Linked DNA regions of Homo sapiens: region 1 is linked to region 2. The links are contacts of gene promoters, found by promoter capture Hi-C in blood cells and fetal thymus (Javierre and others, 2016). All regions are on one chromosome and are shown on one strand. The core of a region is centred on a gene start or on the middle of the fragment in contact, and the rest is flanking DNA. Distances in the headings are between cores, read along the strand shown. Region 1 overlaps COL1A1 (collagen type I alpha 1 chain). Region 2 holds the start of TMEM92 (transmembrane protein 92).

Region 1 (2,500 bases), core at 1-2,500, 79 kb after region 2:
CAGTTGGGGTTTAGTCTAGCTCAGAAACAAAGGGATGGCGGTGATGACCTCCCAAGGCTCTTTCTCAGATCTAGGTGGATGTCAAGGCTGTTCCACCCCCTCCACAGGTTCTTACCTTCTACCTCTTTCCTGCTTTAGGGTTTCAGTGGTTTGGATGGTGCCAAGGGAGATGCTGGTCCTGCTGGTCCTAAGGTAAGAGGCTGTCTGAACATCATGGTCCTCCACATCCCCAGAGTCCCACCATGAATGAATTTCTCACTCATTATTCTCTGATCTACAGGGTGAGCCTGGCAGCCCTGGTGAAAATGGAGCTCCTGGTCAGATGGTGAGTGTGCCCAGTTCCAGAGGGCAGGGATGGGGCAGGAGGCAGGGGCAAGATGGAGGCCTGGGGGAACAAGGCTGTCTCCCATCTCATCTGACTTCTCTTGGTTTGGTTGTCAGGGCCCCCGTGGCCTGCCTGGTGAGAGAGGTCGCCCTGGAGCCCCTGGCCCTGCTGTAAGTACTCCTGGCCCCTTGGGGGATCCCTGAGCTCTGGAAGGGGCTCCCCAGGAACTCTAGGGACTGGCCAGTGCTCAGTGGACTTAACGGGGCTTCCCCTCTCTCCTGCAGGGTGCTCGTGGAAATGATGGTGCTACTGGTGCTGCCGGGCCCCCTGTGAGTGTGGCCTGTAGGCCTCAGGGCCTGGGAGTGGGGAGGGGTCTCAGTATCTGCTCTTGGGGCTGACAATGGGAGCAGGTTATGTTGGTCTGAACCCCAGGACTTCCTCTGTCCCAGGGTGTGACTTGCAGCTGCCATCTCTTCCTTCTCGCTGACATCTCCATTTCATTCACAGGGTCCCACCGGCCCCGCTGGTCCTCCTGGCTTCCCTGGTGCTGTTGGTGCTAAGGTGAGACCCCCCACTCTCCTCTAAGCATGACCCTCATGGGCCAAGGGGTTCATGTCTCCCTGTTCCCCAAACCAAAGGGACCCAGAGTGGCAAGAGAGCAGCCCGTTCACTAACACCTTTGTCCTGGGTTCTCCGTCTCTGATCTTAGAGTCCTGATCATTGCTCTCCTGTCCCTGTCTCCCCTTCCTCCTGCCATCCCGAGAGGCAAGGTTGGGTTTCCCAGGGTGGCTTCTGATATGTCCTTTCTTCTGATTCAGGGTGAAGCTGGTCCCCAAGGGCCCCGAGGCTCTGAAGGTCCCCAGGGTGTGCGTGGTGAGCCTGGCCCCCCTGGCCCTGCTGGTGCTGCTGGCCCTGCTGTAAGTGTCCCCGACTCAGTGTCCCCTTTGCCACTTTCTAACCTCAGAGTCCTTGCCTGTTGCTGACACTCCTTTCTCTGTGCCACAGGGAAACCCTGGTGCTGATGGACAGCCTGGTGCTAAAGGTGCCAATGTAAGTATCCTGCCAGGCTTCAGTCCCACTCCTGCCGCCTGCAGCCTGCCTGCCCCTTTCCCTCTGCTCCTAGGCTCACGCCCTGGCTGTCTGCCTCCCACAGGGTGCTCCTGGTATTGCTGGTGCTCCTGGCTTCCCTGGTGCCCGAGGCCCCTCTGGACCCCAGGGCCCCGGCGGCCCTCCTGGTCCCAAGGGTAACAGCGTGAGTACCAAACTCTCCCTTCTGCCCACCCCATGCACTGGCTCCAGTGCGGCTCTCATCTGGGGAGCAGGAAGACGCAGGCCAACTGAGCGCCCCCGACTCTCAGCTCATCCTCTTCTCCCCCCTTGCAGGGTGAACCTGGTGCTCCTGGCAGCAAAGGAGACACTGGTGCTAAGGGAGAGCCTGTAAGTCTCCCCGCCATCCTTCTTGCAGCCCAGCCCACCCTGCCCTAGGAGCCCCCTGAGGGAAATCCAGAAAGGAAGAGGAGCCCCTAGTCTTCTGGGGGAGTCCCTGCCACACCCCCAGGAACCCCTGACACTGGAGGCCCAGCCTCAGCCGGCTCTGAGGCTGGCACAGGATGGCCCCTCACCACAGGCCGCCTCCTCCTCTCGGCCCTCTCCAGGGCCCTGTTGGTGTTCAAGGACCCCCTGGCCCTGCTGGAGAGGAAGGAAAGCGAGGAGCTCGAGGTGAACCCGGACCCACTGGCCTGCCCGGACCCCCTGGCGAGCGTGTAAGTGTCCCTGCCCGCCCCCTCCCGCTCCACCCTCATTGCCTGGCTGGTGCCTGTGTGTCGCGGAGTTCACTGGCCTCCTCTCCTCCTGCAGGGTGGACCTGGTAGCCGTGGTTTCCCTGGCGCAGATGGTGTTGCTGGTCCCAAGGTAACCTCTCCTTGCGGCCGGGGGGCTGACCCTGCCGCTCCCTGGGCATCTTCTTCCTCTTTTGGCCCGTGGCAAAGAGCCACAAACTTGAGACCCTAACTGTTCCTGTGACTTCCCCCAACCAGGGTCCCGCTGGTGAACGTGGTTCTCCTGGCCCTGCTGGCCCCAAAGGATCTCCTGGTGAAGCTGGTCGTCCCGGTGAAGCTGGTCTGCCTGGTGCCAAGGTGAGGCCCCAGGCTTTCAGCCTGGCTTGGCCAGGCCCTG
Region 2 (6,332 bases), core at 763-3,262:
AATACCAGTGATAGCCAATAAGAGTTGGGGTAATTCCCCTTTTCCACGCTCAGTCCCAGGCTGAGTACCATCTCACAGGCTTTGTCCCCTTGTGGGGACAGGAACAGGAAGGAACCCCTGCAGGTTGGCCCAGAAAGGGTGAGTCTGTGAATCCAAATCACACAGCACACAGGAATGACTATAGAATTGGAGACAGGCTGGGTGCGGTGCCTCATCCCTGTAATCCTAAATACCTTGGGAGGCTGAGGTGGGTGGATTGCTTGAGGCCGGGAGTTTAAGACCAACCTGGCCAACATAGCGAGACCCTGTCTCTATTCTTTTTTCTTTTTTCTTTTTTTTTCTTTTTGGAGATGGAGTCTAGCTCTGTTGCCCAGGCTGGAGTGCAGTGGTGCGATCTCGGCTCACTGCAACCTCCGCCTCCCAGGTTCAAGTGATACTCCTGCCTCAGCCTCCCAAGTAGCTGGGATTACAGGCACGTGCCACCATGCCTGGCTAATTTTTGTATTGTTAGTAGAGATGGGGTTGTTGGTCAGGCTGGTCTGAAACTCCTGACCTCACGATCTGCCTGCCTCGGCCTCTCAAAGTGCTGGGATTACAGGCGTGAGCCACTGCGCCTGGCCTCTATTCTTTAAATTAAAAATATATATATACAGAGAGGGAACTTGGAGACAAATCGAGGGGTCCATCCAGGCACTCAACAGCACCCCTTCCCCCTCAGACCCCACTCTGGCCCTTGTCCTTTTCCTGGACCCCAGCTAATAAGTAATGGATAATTAACAGGTTTAGTAAATTAATCTCAAGTTCCGGTTTGGGAGGGGGAGGAGCTCTTCTCCCAGATTGTCTCCCCACATTTTAACCAGGGGGTAGTCTTGTCTGGGGTGGTTCAGAGGCTGAGTTTTATGGAGCGTCAGGGTGGTCTTGGGCTGGGAGTAAGTAAATCTCAGCTTACTTAACTCCAGAATTGAAGGTATTAACAGCACCTCGCCCCTGGGGTTGGTGGGAGGGGTAAACCAGAGGATGCCCAGCCCAGCATTGACACAAACTGACCGCCCAGTGATTTAGAAGGAACACCTTGCTCACTAACCCGGGTCCACGGAAGGGTTTTGGCAGAGCCTCTCTGAAAGCTCAGCCCAGATGTGTGAAGGTGCCCTGTTCTAAAATCCTAACTATGGAAGACCCTGACTTCCCTCCGGTTCTTAAATGGAAATAAGACACAAATGCATGTTCTAGACCCGTCTCTGTTCCCAGGATAAACACCCATCCCAGGACCGGACAGCTTTCCCCCATCACCTGTAGAGTTTACTTGGGAGGAACAGAAGGGCGGAGGGAACACTCGAACCCTACACCTCCCTCTCAAAATCACAGATTTCAGAGGTCACCCCAGCCTTGGTCAGGCAGCCAGGTCAAATCCCACCACAGGCTGGGATTACTTACCCCTAGAAGGGGACAAAAGAGCCTTCTCTCCCCTAGGGAACAAGCAGAGACACAGTCCCAAAGAGGGTGGGGACATCCCAGGGTCCCCCAGCACTGGAGGAACTGAGCTGGGGCTAAGTGCTGGCCCAGGTGTCCAAAGCTCAGGCGGGAAGGAGCTGGAAGGATAAGCTGAGGCTAATAAGGGGTCCAAAGTCCCTATTCACAGAGACGTGCTAGGTGTCAGATAAGGTGGTGGGTGGTGGCCACTTCCCACCACAGGATCCCCCTCAGAGGTGGGAGAACCCAGCCTCTCCCAGAGCCTCCTCCGCTGCCCCCACCTCCACCTCCACAGCAAAGAGAGAAAGGAAGTAGCTAACTGTGTGTGGTCAGGAGGAAATCCTGATTCTGGAAGGTGGCGACCAGGCTCCAGAAGCAGGCTCCTGACCTACAAGGGTAGGGCCCAAAAGTTCAACAACCTTACCTCCCAGTCTCACCTTTTGGGGGCCAGCCAGCAGGCTGAACAGCAAGGTGGGCGCGAGGCCGGGGACCCAAGCTTGGGACATCCTGGCTTGGGGGCCACTGAGCTTTCCTGTGTAGAGAAGGCGGGGCTGCGACCTCTCCCACTTCTCTCCACCTATGGGGCCCCGCCTCGGGATGGGGGCGGAGCTGCACCGGGAGAGGCGGACTCGGGGCAGGGAGGGGCTGGGAGGAGGAAGGGAGGAAGGGAGGCGCAGAGGTCTGGGTTGGGTTTTGGGATTTGGGAGGTAGAAGAGATTAACGGATTTTTAAAAAAGCGGTCCCGGGCGCGGTGGCTCACGCCTGTAATACCAGCACTTTGGGAGGATCACTTCAGGTCAGGAGTTCGAGACCAGCTTGGCCTACATGGTGAGACCCCCCGTCTCCACTAGAAATACAAAATTTAGCCGGGCGTGGTGGCGGGTGCCTGTAATCCCAACTACTCAGGAGCCTGAGGCAGGAGAATCGCTTGAACCCGGGAAGCAGAGGTTGCAGTGAGCCGAGATCGTGCCAGTGCACTCCAGCCTGGGCGACGGAGTGAGACTCCATCTCTAAATAAATAAATAAATAAATAAATAACCTAAATTTAAAAAGAGGTGGGATCAACTCCACACCGCTGAGCTGGGCCTTCCTAACTCCCAACTCCTCCACTCCTAAGTGCCCCAGACTCCAGGGAGGGGTGCCGGGACCGGCGGGAGTGGGAAGGGGACGTGGAAGCCCCTTCTTATCTGGACCTCTGGGTCTGGTGAGAAGTCAAATGGGGGCAGAGGTTGAGGGAGGGGAAGGCGAAGGTTCTAGGGTAGATTTTGAGGGGTTATGGTTGGGGGATATCACCCCATTGTGTTTTGACCAAAAAGGGAGGGACAGAGCAGCCTGGCTGATTTCAGAGTGCCCTGAGATTTCCAGGTCGAGGAAGGAAGACCAGGAGCACAACGTGGGTACCTTCGTGTCCCCTCCCCTCTTGAAATCCTACAGGAGGTGTTGGTGCATTTTCTCCCATTGACAAAACGGGAACTCAAGGCCCCAGGGTTTAGACTGCCCCGGGGTCCGCAGCTGGGGCTGGTCCTCTGCCAGGCCCGCCGGGGCGCGGGCGAGCAGGCCCATCCAGATTCCTGGAAAGACCCCGCGGAGGCCGCCCCAGTGCGGAGGGGCCTGATTCTGAGCCCCCTGCGGCCGCCGCCTCCAGCACTCCAGGCGCGGAGCTTCCGGGAGCGGCCGGCAGGTGGCAGCGTCGCCCAGCGCGGGTGCCCCCGGGAGCCGGGAGGGGCGCGGCCGGGGCTTGTGGGCTGGGGGCGCTGGGCGAGGGCGAGGCAGGAGCAGTGCAGCCAGGACCGCGGGAGGGGGAGAGGGGGTGATGGAGCGTGGGGCGCTGCTCCCTGGCCCGGCCAAGGGGGACCCTGAGAGGCTCAACGTCATGTCCTTGGGCGCCTCCTGCTGTGTCGCCAATCTGTCTTGACCCCTGAAAAACACCCCCGACGTCGTGGGCGTTTCTTCTCTTTCCTTGCTCTCTGCCTCTCACCCTTCTCCCTCATCTCTCCCAGTCATGTTCTCTGTCTTATATTTAACCCCTCTGTGTCTCTCCCCGTTTCTCCCAGCCTCTGTTTTTCTGTTTCGGTTTCTTCCCATCTGTCCGCACCCAGTTTCTCTCGAGTTCCCAGCCTTTCCCTCTGTTCTCCCGTCTGTTTCTCCTCTCTCTGTTCACCTCTGTCTGCCTCGGCGGAGGCGTCTGTTTTTCTCGGTTTCTCTGGTCCCTTCTCCTTGTCCCTGGTTTGGTCCTGCACCCCCAGTCTCTCGGTCTGTTTCTTATGCTGTCTCCCTGCTCTCTCTCTCCCTTTCCCTGTCTCTATTTCCCATTACCTCCTAGCCCTTTTTGCCCCTTAAGAAGATAATCTTCTAGTCTCCTGATCCGAGGGGTATTGGGATCTGGCCCCTCTGTATTTGAAGTGACTGTGAGCTTGGAGAAGGGAAGGGGCCGCCGTCTCCCCTCCTCCCCTGCAGGTGGACCTTGGCAGGGGGACCTCGTCCTGAGAGTGCTGGAGCCTCCACCTCTTGAGTCGTTGCCAACTTGGGCTGCCAGGGTTCTTCTTGTCCCCACCCAGGCCCCACTGCAACAGCAAGGCCTGGGGTCTCTACCCCACACTCCCTGCTATCCTGCCCAGGCTGGGAGCCCTACAGAGGTGTGGCCCTTACGGGAGAGGAAAATGGGAAAATGGTTGAGCTTAGAGGAGGAAGATACCCTGCGGGGTGAAATGAGGGTGCTGAGAAGGGCATGTGGGAACTCAAGGGACAGATGTGGGGGGTCAGCAGGAGTGGGGGTGAGGGAACTAGGCGGGCACCAGTGCCCTGAAGAGGGGCAGGAGGAGGGGGAGGAGGCTGGCATAGCTGCTCTCTGGGTCTCTGGCATCAACCTGACCCAGATCTAGGGTTGCCGGACAAAAGACAGGAGGCCCAGGTAAATCCAAATTTCAGATAAACGATGAATAATTTCATTTTAGTATAATTATGTCCCATGCAATATATATATATTTTTTGAGAACCAAGACTGGAATGGAGTGGTGTGAGCTCACTGCAACCTCCACCTCCCAGATTCAAGCAATTCTCATGCTTCAGCCTCCCAAGTAGCTGGGATTACAGGCATGTGCCACTATGTCCAGCTAATTTTTTGTATTTTTAGTAGAGACAGGGTTTTACCTTGTTGGCCAGGCTGGTCTCCAACTCCTGGCCTCAAGTGATATGCCCACCTTGGCCTCCCAAAGTGTTGGGATTACAGGCGTGAGCTACTACACCTGGGCCCATGCAATATTTGAGACATACTTATGCTAAAATTTACTTTTCTATCTGAAATTCACATTTAATGGGATGTTCTGTGTTTTTCTTTGTTAAAACTGGCAACCAGGCCAGGCACAGTGGCTCACGCTTATAACCCCAGCACTTGGAGAGGCCGAGGTAGGAAGATCACTTGAGCCCAGGAGTTTGAGACCAGCCTGGGCAACATAGCAAGACCCTGTCTCTGCAAACAAAGAAAACAAAAGCAATTAAGCCGGTGTGGTGGCATGTACCTGTAGTCCCAGTTACTCTGGAGGTTGAGGTAGGAGGATCACTTGAGCCTAGGAGTTCAAGGCTGCAGTGAGCTGAGATCACACCACTACACTCCAGCCTGGGTGACAGAGCACCACCCTCGCTCTAAAAAGAAAAACAAAACAAAACAAAATCTGGCAATGCTATCCACATCGCTACAATGTCCTAGGAACAAACTCCACCCCCACCCCACATCTTCCAATGAAGAAGTGAGGTCCTTAGCACTTGACTCACCAGGCAGAGTCTGAAGGGCTCTTGAGCCCCTCGGCTGGGCCCCCAGTTCCATGACACCAAACTGCCCTACGTTCCTTCCTGCAGATGGGGACAAGATGAGGAGCCTGGAAGTGGGTGGTCCCAGGCCAGGCCAAGAACACCAGGGCCTGTTAGCATTCATCATGGCCCCAGGGCCCTCGGATTTTTGGTGGGTGAGGTCAGAAGGGGGTGGGAGCACCATGGACCCCCCTAGACTGAGCAGAGAAGGGCTGTTCTAGAGGAAGGAGGGTCCTGGACAAGGCCAGCATCTTCTGTTTGGCACGTCACCTAGCACCAGGAGGGCAGCGTGTGCAGGTGCTCAGGCATACACGAGCACAGAAACCCAGAGGCCTCATGTAGTCAGCGGCCCCCTAGATTCAACACCAAATTCCATCTGGGGTTTCCCAAGAGCAGCCACTTCGAAATGTCTTCATAAACGCTCGCTGGGCCCCCAGTGCATTCACTAAAGAATGAGCTGATTGTGCATCCTGCCGGGGCCCAGCTGGAAGGAGGGGCCTCCGAGGCCAGCCGGCCCACTTACGCCCTTCTCAGAGGAGGCAACCAGGGCCTGGAGAGCGGGAAGGCCAGGTCGCACAGGACATGAGGGGCTGAGTCAGGATCAGAACCATGCAGCGCTCAAGACGCCACACCCAGCACAGGTGGCACTCACCTCGGGCCTGGGGAGCCCTGCTCCACTGCTCTGGATGGAGGATCACTCAGGGTGGGTGGCCTCGCCTAGCCTGGCTCAGCCCAGCCCAGGGGGCCAGGCTTGGGTGAAGGGGAAGAGCCAGGGTGAATTCTGTTTTACTTGGCAGTCCCCCCCACCCCCATACTTTGGTGGACACTAATATCTGTAATGGCTGATGGCACTAGGCTGGGATCTCTTTTCAAAGCCAGCAGAATGCTCTGCTCTAGCCCGGCTCTGCCTGTAGGGGCAGTATTGTGTCGTGTTAGTCAGTGTGCCACTGAATATGTTGTGCTGTGTGACCTTAGACGAGAAATGGAACTTCTCTGGGCCTCTCTCAACAGGAAGGAGAGGGAGGAGTTGGATAACAGTACCTCCCTCATCATAT

Evidence for each region. The method cuts DNA at HindIII sites, captures the fragments that hold promoters and counts their contacts. A CHiCAGO score of 5 or more calls a contact.
Region 1: a fragment that was not itself captured here is called in contact with the fragment with the promoter of TMEM92 in region 2 in 17 of 17 cell types (M1 macrophages, M0 macrophages, megakaryocytes and 14 more); the score reaches 23.3 in M1 macrophages.

What each region holds. Positions count from the first base shown.
Region 1 is chr17:50,194,309-50,196,808 of GRCh38, reverse strand. It overlaps COL1A1 (collagen type I alpha 1 chain), which reads left to right. Exons shown (of 51, transcript NM_000088.4): 12 at 139-192; 13 at 281-325; 14 at 442-495; 15 at 610-654; 16 at 833-886; 17 at 1,144-1,242; 18 at 1,331-1,375; 19 at 1,479-1,577; 20 at 1,709-1,762; 21 at 1,981-2,088; 22 at 2,183-2,236; 23 at 2,362-2,460. Among named protein-coding and RNA genes, the nearest start is that of COL1A1, 6.1 kb to the left of the region's middle. RefSeq lists an enhancer at 1-468. The HindIII fragment of the contact is 9,239 bases long and covers 1-2,500 here.
Region 2 is chr17:50,270,146-50,276,477 of GRCh38, reverse strand. It overlaps TMEM92 (transmembrane protein 92), which reads right to left and starts at 2,012. Exons shown (of 5, transcript NM_153229.3): 1 at 1,908-2,012. The coding sequence starts at 1,976. It overlaps LOC124904028 (a long non-coding RNA gene), which reads right to left. Exons shown (of 3, transcript XR_007065846.1): 2 at 5,242-5,319; 3 at 5,075-5,112. RefSeq lists silencers at 1,636-1,930, 3,068-3,407. The HindIII fragment of the contact is 4,587 bases long and covers 1,969-6,332 here.